Regions from separate parts of the Homo sapiens genome. Here region 1 is linked to region 2. The links are contacts of gene promoters, found by promoter capture Hi-C in human tissues and cell types (Jung and others, 2019). All regions are on one chromosome and are shown on one strand. Each heading gives the region's core, a stretch centred on a gene start or on the middle of the fragment in contact. The rest is flanking DNA. Distances are from core to core; before and after follow the strand shown. Region 1 holds the start of TNFRSF18 (TNF receptor superfamily member 18). Region 2 holds the start of RNF223 (ring finger protein 223).

Evidence for each region. The method cuts DNA at HindIII sites, captures the fragments that hold promoters and counts their contacts. A contact is called where the count stands out against the background at its distance.
Region 1: the fragment with the promoter of TNFRSF18 here is called in contact with the fragment with the promoter of RNF223 in region 2 in 2 of the 25 tissues and cell types used here (IMR-90 fibroblasts and pancreas).

Annotation. Positions count from the first base shown.
Region 1 is chr1:1,205,142-1,210,584 of GRCh38, forward strand. It overlaps TNFRSF18 (TNF receptor superfamily member 18), which reads right to left and starts at 1,451. Exons shown (of 5, transcript NM_004195.3): 1 at 1,244-1,451; 2 at 229-351. The coding sequence starts at 1,430. RefSeq lists silencers at 34-234, 3,107-3,196, 3,777-3,886 and an enhancer at 3,031-3,910. The HindIII fragment of the contact is 29,019 bases long and covers 1-5,443 here.
Region 2 is chr1:1,071,018-1,076,562 of GRCh38, forward strand. It overlaps RNF223 (ring finger protein 223), which reads right to left and starts at 3,289. Exons shown (of 2, transcript NM_001205252.2): 1 at 2,999-3,289; 2 at 1-1,558. The coding sequence starts at 1,549. The coding sequence ends at 800. RefSeq lists an enhancer at 2,982-3,481. The HindIII fragment of the contact is 34,324 bases long and covers 1-5,545 here.

The DNA.
Region 1 (5,443 bases), core at 201-2,700, 130 kb after region 2:
AGCCCTCGTGCTGGATGGAGAAGCCCAGGCTGAGAAAGCAGGGACAGGACACCCCCAGAGCTTCATGGCCTGTGGTGCCTGAGCATGGCCTGGCCTGCCCGGCCTCACAGGACTCCGGACCCCACACACCACATGTCCTCGCCGGACACCTGTGCCCACGAGCTCTGCCTCGGGCCCTAGTGGAACCCCTGGCCTGTGTGGACTCCCAGAGGCACCTCCAGGACTTACCCTGGGACTGTACCCCCTGGCCTGGGGGACAAGGGTGGTGCCGGCAGGTCGTGCAGCAAGGGTCTCCGCAGTGGAATTCAGGCTGGACACACATGCAGTCCCACTCGGAACAGCACTCCTCGCCTGGGCAGGAGACAGGCCAGCCCCCCAGCAGCTGGGCTGAGGCCCCCTCCTCCCCAGGCCTCCCCTCGGCCCTCCAGGGGAGTGAGGTTGTCCGTTCTCCACCCACAGTTGGCTCCAGGGAGCAGAGGGCTCCTGGCTGGGAGTCTGGACCCTGGGTTTATCCAGCTGTCTCTTTCTCCTGGGGCCATGTGGCCTGGCTACTCCCCCTTTGCGCCCCACAGCTGCCCCTGCCCAGGTGCTAACTCCATATGCAACCAGGAGCTGCCCCTGCAGGACCCAGGGGTGGCCCCCAACAGTGCACAGTCCCCTGGAGGCCCGTCGACACCTCAGAGGCCGCCTGCCTGGTGTCTGGGCGCTGCTGTCCCCACCACCAGCCACACTGGGCCTCCGGACAGAGCCTCCCTTCCCAACCCACAGGCCCTGGAGGAAGAAGCTCTGGGGTGACTTCCCTGCCAGCTTCCTCTCCAGACCAGCCGTGTCAGCTGAACCCTCATCCCCAGGTGCAGGTCAGAGGCAGGCAGCAGGCCAGACGGTGGTGCAGGGGGGCCCTCAACTGGGCAGGAGGGGGCTGGGCGATGGCCAAGGGCTCACGACCCGCCCAGCAGGACCTGGAACAGCCGTCCTCCACCTCCAGACCCCAGACCCCTCTTGAGGGCGCTCCCACCTGGCTCACCCCTGCTCCCGGCCGGGGCCACTGGCTGGAGCTGGCACACCTCCGCCTCCCTCTGGGATCCTGCCTCCCTCCGGAAGGCTCCCGCTGCTGGCGGCTCTGTGCCCACCCTCCTTAGACCTCAGCAACGCCGGTCTGAGCACGGGAAGGGGGGCGCCCACCCATCCCGGCTTCCGCGGGACGCCTTGGCCGGTCCGCGTTAAGTAAACGCGGTTTACTTACCCGGGTAATCGCGGCAGCAGCGCGTCGTGTGAACCCGGCAGCAGCGCGCGTCCGTTCCCGTCCCAAGCAGGAGGCGCCCAGGGCCGCACCCGGGACCCCCGGTGGGGCGCTGACCCAGGCTGAGCGCGCACAGCAGCGCCAGGCCGCACAGGGCCCGAAACGCGCCCATCGCCCCGTGCTGTGCCATGCTCGGGTTTCAAGAGCCCACAGCCAGTTGGACACGCCCCGTCCCCGTCCTCACCCGCCCTGCCCGGAGGTGGCTGGGACCGTTCATGACCTGAGAATCCCGACCCAGGTGAAGTGCGTGTGAGGAGGGGGTGTAGACACTGCGGACACAGCCCGGTCCCCCGCAGGTCGCCGGCAGGGGCGGGGAAACCAGGCTGGCGGGGATCAGAAAGGTTTTCTATGCAAAGTCTGCGGCCACATTGGTGTCCCCAGTGCAGGGGGCGGCGTTTATAGCACCTTGTCCCATGGGGGCCCCTTGGAGGGCGGGGGTCAGCCAATCACTCCTCCATCCCACTGCCTCCGGGTGGTATCTGCGAGTCCCCGAGAGGTCTCCACAAATTCTGGCCACCCCCAGAGAGCCTCAACCATGGAGCCCCGTGCTGGGGAACCCCACAGAATGGGGACAGGGACCCCTCGGCTCAGCACACCCCACCTGGCTGGCTTCAGGTGTGAAACTCACCATGGGCTGCAGGCCTGTGGGCTCCCCTCCCCCTTGCTTGCAGCTCTCCAGGACCCCCCTCAGGCCAACCTGGGAAGTTCCCCGGGGCTTGGGAGGGGCACCAGGAGGAGCTGGTGGGGAGACGAGAGGGTGCTGGCGCCTCCTCGGGACAGTGTCAGCCGCCCCCGCGGGCACCCAGGGCCCGGTCTCTCAGAGCCACCTTCATCCGTCACACCAGACAGATCCAGGTCCCGGAGGGAGTTGAGGAGGAGCCCCTCGCAGAGCTCTTGGGAGACTGTCCTATGTCTTTCTGAGCCTCAGTTTCCCCTGTGGGCACCGAGGGGTTCTGGGACCCTGCCTCCACCAGGAAGCCTCCCTGGATTGCCCAGCCCTGCTTCTGCGCCGTCCAGCACAGGTGGAGACCCCCATGAATGCTGGGGGTGGGGGCTCTCGGGAACGTGAGCGTGGATGTGGTTCAACACCCTTTTGAGACCTGCAGCCACCGCCTCACCCCGTAAGGCGGTTCCTCCTTTTCCAAGGTAAATGACAGGAATTAGCTGTTTGTGACACCCCGGAGTTCTCAAATCCAAGATGTAGGAGCCTGCCTTGGAGAGGCAGCCCTCAGACACTGCAGAGAAGGAAGGGGTCTCTGCAGCTCCAGGCCGCCCCGACGCTCGGAAGGAAAGGGGTGGGGCCAGCTGGGCCTGGGGGCCTTTGAGAGGCCTGGAGATCTTCAGCCCCGAGGCTGGGAGGGGGTCTGGGCCCCTGGATAGAAAGAGGCGCCATCAGTGGCTCACGCCCGTAATCCCAGCATTTTGGGAGGCCGAGGTGGGCCTCGGATCACCTGAGGTCAGGGGTTCGAGACCAGCCTGACCCACATGGAGAAAGCCCGTCTCTACTAAAAATACAAAAAAAATTAGCCAGGCGTGGTGGCGCACGCCTGTAATCCCAGCTACTCGGGAGGCTGAGGCAGGAGAATTGCTTGAACCTGGGAGGCAGAGGTTGCGGCGAACCAAGATGGCACCATTGCACTCCAGCCTGGGTGACAGAGCGAGACTCCATCACAAAAAATAAAGAATGCTCATCAGACCACACGGTGTGAGTCATCCATCTAGAGGCAGGGACAGAGTTAGAGGAGCGAGCAGTTTATGGGGCCAAGTGGGAGGCGGCCAGCGGGCAGAGGAGCCCCTCCCCCCCGCCCCGTGGCGCAGCTGACACTTTGAACAGCCGGAGAGCAGCTTGCCACACAGGGTGGTCCCCGGAGGGGCTGCAGGGGTGTGACGTCCACCCTCCCATCCCTCTCGCCGCAGAAGGCCCCTCCCCGGCTCCCCGTGACTCCTATCCTTGGGCTGCGAGGCTGGAGGTGACTTGTTCATCTTATTGAGCAGCTCACCGGTGACACAAATGACGGGGCATTCACACAGCAGAGCAGCCCACGGGCCGGGCGAGGGACAGCCCTTGCGTACGTCCAGAAGGGCAGCTGTGAGGCCCCACGGGGAGGGTGCAGATGGGCACTGAGCCAGAGTTCAGGCAGGGCCTTCGGCACAGATGGCACAGGAGTTGCCAGCAGAGATGGCGTCAGGCGAGGGGGCGGGGAGGGTGAGCATGGAGACCAAGAGGAGGTGGCCCCGTGTCCATCTGGGGGTGCGGCAAGGGGTCCTGCTGGGGAATAAGTCCCACGGGGCCTGGGGGGTGCTGTGCCCAGAGGGGAGGAGACAGGAAGCGATGGGTATGGGCGCCAGGTTTGGGGAGGAGGCCCCTTTCCCATAGCCGTCGACCTGCGGGCCCCACAGGATCTGGCCGCTCCAGTCCCGGCCACCTGACCCCTTCCCCCACCCACCCGCCATCCTGCCTGGAGGTCTGGCCTCGCCTGCCCCACGGGGCGGGGGGCGGGGGGCTCTCAGAGGCGCGGCCCCAACCCTGTGCAGGGCCTGCAGGCTGAACCGTGTGCAGGAACCCGGGGAACTCGGTGAAGGTGCTGGATGGGGGACAGGACGGCCTCTGACTTCCCTATGCTGCGGGGGGGGAGGCTTGTGGTTAGCAGAGAGTGGGTGGAAGACAGAGGTTTGAGGAGAGAGAGACCCAGGGGAGAAAACCAGCTGCAGAGGCAGGAGGGGTCCAGGGCAGCCCGAGGCCAGAGATGGGCGTCTTCCTTACAGCCACCTGTGGTCCCGGCACCTTGGGCTGTTGTGAGTGGCGCGTGGCGCTCCCACTGTGCACCCCCGGGGCCGGTTCCCCACTTCCACGACACCGGCAGGGGGGAGCCATCCGCCAGGCACAGGAGGCCTGGACAGCCGTGGGCAGCGTGCGCTGTTGGAGGACGCAGGGAGAGGGAAGGCTGGCCCAGGGACGCTGTGTGGGGCAGCGGGTGCAGCTGCGGGGCTGGGCCACACCAGCCACGGTAGCCGGAGTGTCCAGGCTGTGCCAGGCCCTCAGCAAAACCTTCCATGAGGCTTCATGTGTTTCTTCTTAAGTAATTTTTTTAAATTTCTTTTTTTTTTTCCAGTCACGTCTCACTGCAGCCTCCATCTCTTGGGCTCAAGTGATCCTCCCACCTCGGCCTCCCAAGTAGCCGGGACCACAGGCATGCACCACCACACCCGGCTGATTTTTTCTATTTTTCATAGAAAAGGGTCTTGCCATGTTACCCAGGCGGGTCTCAAACTCCTGAGCTCAGACGATCGTCTGGCCTCAGCCTCCCAAAGTGCTAGGATTCTAGGCGTGAGCCACCGTGACCGGCCTCGGCTGTGTGTTTCTTGCTCATGAGTGCAGTGAGGGCCAGGCGTGGTGGCTCACACCTGGAATCGCAGTACTCCAGGGCACCGAGGCAGGTGGATCACCTGAGGTCAGGAGTTCAAGACCAGCTTAGCCAACATGGTGAAACCCTGTCTCTAATAAAATACAAAAATTAGCCGGGTGTGGTGCTGGGCGCCTGTAGTCCCAGCTACTTGGGAGGCTGAGGCAGGAGAATGGCGTGAACCCGGGAGGCAGAGGTTGGTGAGCTGAGATCACACCACTGCACTCCAGCCTGGGTGACACAGCAAGACTCCGGCAAAAAAAAAAAAAGAAAGAAAAAACAAGTGCAGTGAGACGTCTTAGCCCTCGGGAGTGTTTCTCTTCAGCCCCTGACACCATGGAGGCGAACAGGCACCTCCGCCTCCCGAGGGACACAGATGTCGCTTAGACGCCCGGGGTGTCTTCCCTGCGGGAAGCCTGCAGGGCTGCTCCCGCCTTGTTCCCGAGCTGTGGCCTCGGGCGTGACTGGCGCTCGGGAGCAGGCTCTGTGCTGCTCGAAGGATACCCCACTCCCAGACACCAGCTTGAGAAGATTCCCGCACGGCCGGGGACGGCCCCAGGGCCTTGGGAGCGTCTGTGGACACCTGTGGTGTGGGCCGAGGAGCTGGGAGCTCATCTGAACACGCCAGCACTCGCGCATCCACGCTGCTGGCGGATGCCTGGGTTTCTCCACTGTGGGGCCACGTTACATGAAGTCGCTGTGGTCATTCTCATTCAGATCCCAGGACTCTTAAGTGCGC
Region 2 (5,545 bases), core at 2,039-4,538:
AGCTGGAAGTTTCTGTGGTTACCTTGCACTGGGGGGCTGCCCTGCCTCCACTCTCTCCCCACAGTCCGAGGGCAAGATGAGCACCCCCACCCAATGGCAGGACCAGCCCTGCGGGGAAATGTCAGCATGAGTGGAAGCACGGCAAGGCCCCTTCCTTCTTGGCAAGGGGCTTCCCTGGCAGGCAGTTCACAGGGTGTGTGGGTGGGGGGGATGCTGACCAGCTGCTCTCCTGGACCCTTCCTGTACGAGCCTGTTTTTTTTTGTTTTGTTTTGAGACAGGGTCTCCCTCTGTCGCCCAGGCTGGATGCAGTGGTGCAATCTTGGCTCACTGCCACCTCCACCTCCCCGGTTCAAGCAGTTCTCCTGCCTCAGCCTCCCCAGTAGCTAAGAGGCACCCACCACGATGCCCGGTTAATTTTTGTATTTTTAGTAGAGATGGGGTTTCACCATGTTGGCCAGGCTGGTGTCAAAATCCCGACCTCAAGTGGTCTTTCTGCCTCAGCCCTCCAGAGTGCTGAGATGACAGGCGTGAGCCACCGCGCCCGGTGAGACTGTGGTTCTTGGAGGCTTTGGGGATCCTCTTGTCCACCCCGTCAGGACCCAGCCTGGAGAATGAGGGGTGGACAAGCTAAATGGAGCCTGGTCTTGGTGGGGCCCCGGTGGAGTCCTCAGAGATGCCAGGCTCCTTTCGCGTCCTCGGGGACCGACTTCCAGTGGCTGCTGTGCCCTTGGGCCCCCCAGTGGGGGACGCCCCATGGAGCTGGGCGAGGGCGGCTGACCTGGGCAGAGGCTGCTGGCCCTAATTATCAGTCAGAGGCCCGAGGGGGGAGGCGGCTGTGCTGGTGGCCGGGGGCCGGGGGGGCAGGGGCAGGCAGCGCAGGTTCCCGGTCTTGAGCGCGCACTGCACCGGCCAGAGTGCCACACAGAAGAGCATCAGCAGCAGGGCAGAGACCAGTGCCATGCGCCTCCAGTCCCTGCAGCGCGCCCAGCAGCGGGCCAGGCGGCCCCGGCGGGGGGCAGGGTCCCGGGCGGGCGCGGGCGGCTCGGCAGGCTTGCTCAAACCCACGTCCACGCATACGAAACCGGGCTCGCGGCCAGGTGTGGTGGGCAGTGGCTGGCAGCACAGCTTGGTGCCCTCCAGCCACACAGGCTCCTCACGCCGCAAATGCGCCGGCATCCGGGCCTGCAGCTGGCGGCTGGTGCACAGCGCGGGGGCTCCGGCGGGCGGCACGGCCGTGGGCTGCCTGCAGAAGGGGCAAGGTACAGCCTCACCACCGGGGCGGCCCACAGGCTGAGCAGCCGCCAGCCGGGCCAGGCACTCCAGGCAGAAGACGTGGGTGCAGGAGAGCTCCTTGGGTGTCTTGAAGATGTTGTCATAGCCTGAGAAACAGATGGAGCACTCCAGGGGGGAGGCCACCCTCTCCGAGCCAGGGGTGCCAGGGGACCTGGGGCTGCCGGCCGAGCTGGGGGACCTGGGCATCGAGGCTATGGAGCTGCTCCGGCGAGGGGGTGGCACAGCCGTGTGCCACACCTGCTGGCCTGACGACATGTCTCTGAGCTGTGGGACAGGGACTGTGGTAAGCAATCACCGGCCGCCCCTTTCTGGTGGTGTTTTATCTCTCCCTCCCCTCTCTCGCCCCAGAGATCCCAGGGAAGGACTCTGTTTCCTGCGCGCCACTCCAGAAAGTTCCTCCGGTGCCCCTGGAGGTCATTCTGCCCCACGTGCAATCCTGTCCTCTCCACCCCATCACATGGCTGCACCGGGGTGAGCCTCCCACAGGGCCCCAGGCCTGCTCCGGGAATGCAGGCCGTGTGTAGGGGGGTCTCACTGACCGCTCGGCAGACACCTCCTGTTGGCCCTGCCCCACCTGGCTGGCCCTGCTGCCCGGGCAGAAATAATGGTGAGGATGACAATAGCCACAGTCGTCACTGTTTATGTCGGAGCTCTGCAAGGCTGGGCCCACATCACGGGACTCACACAACGCCACAGTGTGGAAAAGGCCGCCCAGAGCATGGGTGACTCGGCCAGGGCCACCCCAAGGGAGCTGGCGGGCCCTGGACCCTGGCAGATACGGCTCTCAGGCAGGCCAGGGACTCCAAGTCAAGTGAAGTGAGTTTGAACTCAGATCCCAGGATGGGTGCCTGGCTTGGGCGGTGCAGGCCTGATTTGTAGGCAGCTATGTGAGGGTGGGGTGTGGGGGTCTCTGGGTCTGGGGACCGGGCTGAGCCCCGGGGGCTTTGGGACGACAGGGAGGGCCCAGGCAGGGGCAGGGGTCAGTGCCCGAGGAAGGTGCACGTCAGGCACGACCTGCGGCCTGCGGGGCCGGCTTGTCTAGCTGCTGAGGGTCTGATGTGCACAGTGTGGGGGTGGGACTTGGATAAGCCCAGCCATTCCCTCTGGGCCAGCCCACTGCCTCATGGTCAGGTGATGGTCAGGGCACCCTCAGCCGCCCACTGAGTGGGTGTTTCTTCTCCCTGACCCAATCCCACTTCATGGCAGGGACCCTGGGGGACGGACACTGGGGGATGCTGCTCTGCCCCTGGGCATGGCTCAGGTGGGCATCTCAGCTGACCTGGGACCCTGCTCCACCTCCCGCCCCTCCCCTGCACCCAGGATCCGCTGCAGGGAGCCACAGGGGTCCCACCTGGAGGGAAGTGGGCAAGGGTGACAGTGAGACTCAAGGGCCTGGCCGTGCGTCCCCGTGGGGCCCAGGAGGCTGCCCCAGAAGTGACTCCTGGCACTGCCCCGCCCCACCCCTGACTTGCCAGTGAGTCCCAGACAGGCTGGCGGGATGACACAGGTCACTGTGACCACCTGAGTCACACGCCGTCACTGTGAGGCCGTGAGTGCCCCAGGCACCGGGACCTGGGGACTGTGCTCTGCGGCCTGTGTACCCCACAGAACCGGTTCCTTGGCACGAGGCCCCACCCCTCCACGATGGTGCCCCACCCTGAGCCTGTGCAGGTAAGGGGTGAACACGGGCTGAGCTGGCCTTACCTGGTGGCCGGGGGTCAGCGGGCCTGGGCGTGGTCCTCCTCGCCGGCCACGGTTGGGCTCCAAGGCCCTGGGCTGCCCTGCCGTGGCAGTGTCTGCTTCCTCTTCTCCGGGCCCGGCCCGGCCTGTGCTTCACCCAGCAGGTATCCCTCCCCGGGGCCGGCCACCAGCAGCTGTCCCGGTGGCACTGGTCTGGCAGGTGTGGCTTCTGCTCTGTCCAAGACAGGCGGGGACACAAGGAATGCGTGCGCCGTCACCCGCACAGAGCTCTGGTCTGAGGCAGGTGTGAGTTGCTGGGTGTGGGCTCCCAAGCAGGTCTATTTATACCCTATGGGCCAAGGGTGTGGCCGCAAGCCTCAGGGATTGGCTGGCTTCATCCTCTCCTTGGCGGGCCAGGCAGCTGGAGGGCAGGGAGGGAGGGGTGAGGGTCGGAGCCGGGTAGGGGTCAGCACAGCCGCTGCAGCCTGGGCAGGTCTGGGCTGGGGTGTGTGCTTGGACAAAGCCCTCTCTCCCTATAGCCCCAGGAGGCTGGAGCACCTGCTGGAAGCTGCTCACCGCAGTTCCAGGTCCCTGTGGCCCCTGAGCTCCTGGGTGGGCCTCCTAGCAGGGGCCCTCCCCGAGCCCCCCACAACCTATGCCCAGCCTGCCCCTGCCCTTTGCTCACTGCTGCCTGCCCTCACAGCCCATTCCTGCCACTTCCCTGCCCACACCCACCCATGTGCTCACCTGCCTCATCCATACACATACGTGGCTGCTCTCACACATGGGCCATGTGTTCACACGCTCTATGCCCCCGTGTCCACAGGCTCTCACACACGTGCCGTGTCCGGAAGCTCACATATGCCATGTCCACACTCACACACGCCGTGTCCACACTCACACGCCGTGTCCACACTCTCACACACATGCCATGTCCACATGCTCTCACACACGTGCCCTGTGTCCACACACACACACATGCCATGTCCACATGCCCTAGCAGACTACAGGACTGGTCTGTGCAAAGACCAGGGCTGGAGCTGGTTGAGAGTCTGGGGGCTGAGGCTGGCAGGGCTGGGATGGAGGATGTGTGGGTCTCAGAGGAGCAGCCAGTGGCATGGGCTGCCCCGTCCCCCGCACACCCCGCTGTGGGCCCGAGGGCCTGGTGTAGAGCTGCACCCCCAGGCTGTCCAGCTGCCAGCTCCCCACCTCACTGAGGCGTCTCTCTCCCAGCCCAGTGGACCTCATGCAAGGGGAGGTCCGACCCGGCTGCCACAGCCCCATCCCCGCCATGAGGCCTGGGCCGGACCTGAGCTGGGACTCCACACACCAGCCTGGGGGGGTGCCACACTGGGTGGGGCTGGGAGTGAGGGACCCACCCTAGTGGGAGAGCTGGCCGGGCCACCCCACAGACTGCCCTCAGGCAACTCCCATGCAGGTGCCCGCCGACCCCTCAGTAGGGACCCAGAGGCTCCCCCAGGGCTGCCGCGGGCATCCTGGAGCCCAAGGGATGCTGGGAAGTGGGAACCAGGACTGCAGAGGCCAGGGGGCAACACCCCGAGGAGGAGCACAGGGACTTGGGCTCAGGAAGGGCCGGACCCCTGCCAGTTCCATGAGGACTCTCAGTCGGGGGTTGGGGGGACCCCTGCCAGTTCCATGAGGACTCTCAGTCAGGGGTTGGGGGGACCCCTGCCAGTTCCATGAGGACTCTCAGTCGGGGGTTAGGGGGGTTCAGAGAGCGGATTTGGGTGCTCAGACAGGGAGGGGTGGATGCTCAGAGAGCGGGGCGCGGGCTGGGGCTGGGCTTTCAGACAGGGAGGGCTGGGGACTCAAGAGCTGGGGAGGGGTGGGAGCTCTGTGAGGGGCTCCGTGCGGGGTGGCTGAGGCTATGGGAACTCTGTGGGGGGAGGCTGAGGCTATGGGGACTCCGTGGGGGGAGGCTGAGGCTATGGGGACTCCGTGCCGGGAGGCTGAGGCTATGGGGACTCCGTGGCGGGAGGCTGAGGCTATGGGGACTCCGTGGGGGGAGGCTGAGGTTATGGGGACTCCGTGCTGGGAGGCTGAGGCTATGGGGACTCCATCGGGGGAGGCTGAGTCTATGGGGACTCCGTGGGGGGAGGCTGAGGCTATGGGGACTCCGTGCCGGGAGGCTGAGGCTATGGGGACTCCGTGGGGCAGGCTGAGGCTACGGTGACTCCGTGCAGGGCTGTGAGGCTACGGGGACTCCGTGGGGGGTGGCTGAGGCTACGGGGACTCCGTGGGGGGAGGCTGAGGCTACGGGGACTCCGTGGGGGGAGGCTGAGGCTACGGGGACTCCGTGGGGGGAGGCTGAGGCTACGGGGACTCCGTGCTGGGAGGCTGAGGCTATGGGGACTCCGTCGGGGGAGGCTGAGTCTATGGGGACTCCGTGGGGGGAGGCTGAGGCTATGGGGACTCCGTGCCGGGAGGCTGAGGCTATGGGGACTCCGTGGGGCAGGCTGAGGCTATGGTGACTCCGTGCAGGGCTGTGAGGCTACGGGGACTCCGTGGGGGGTGGCTGAGGCTACGGGGACTCCGTGGGGGGAGGCTGAG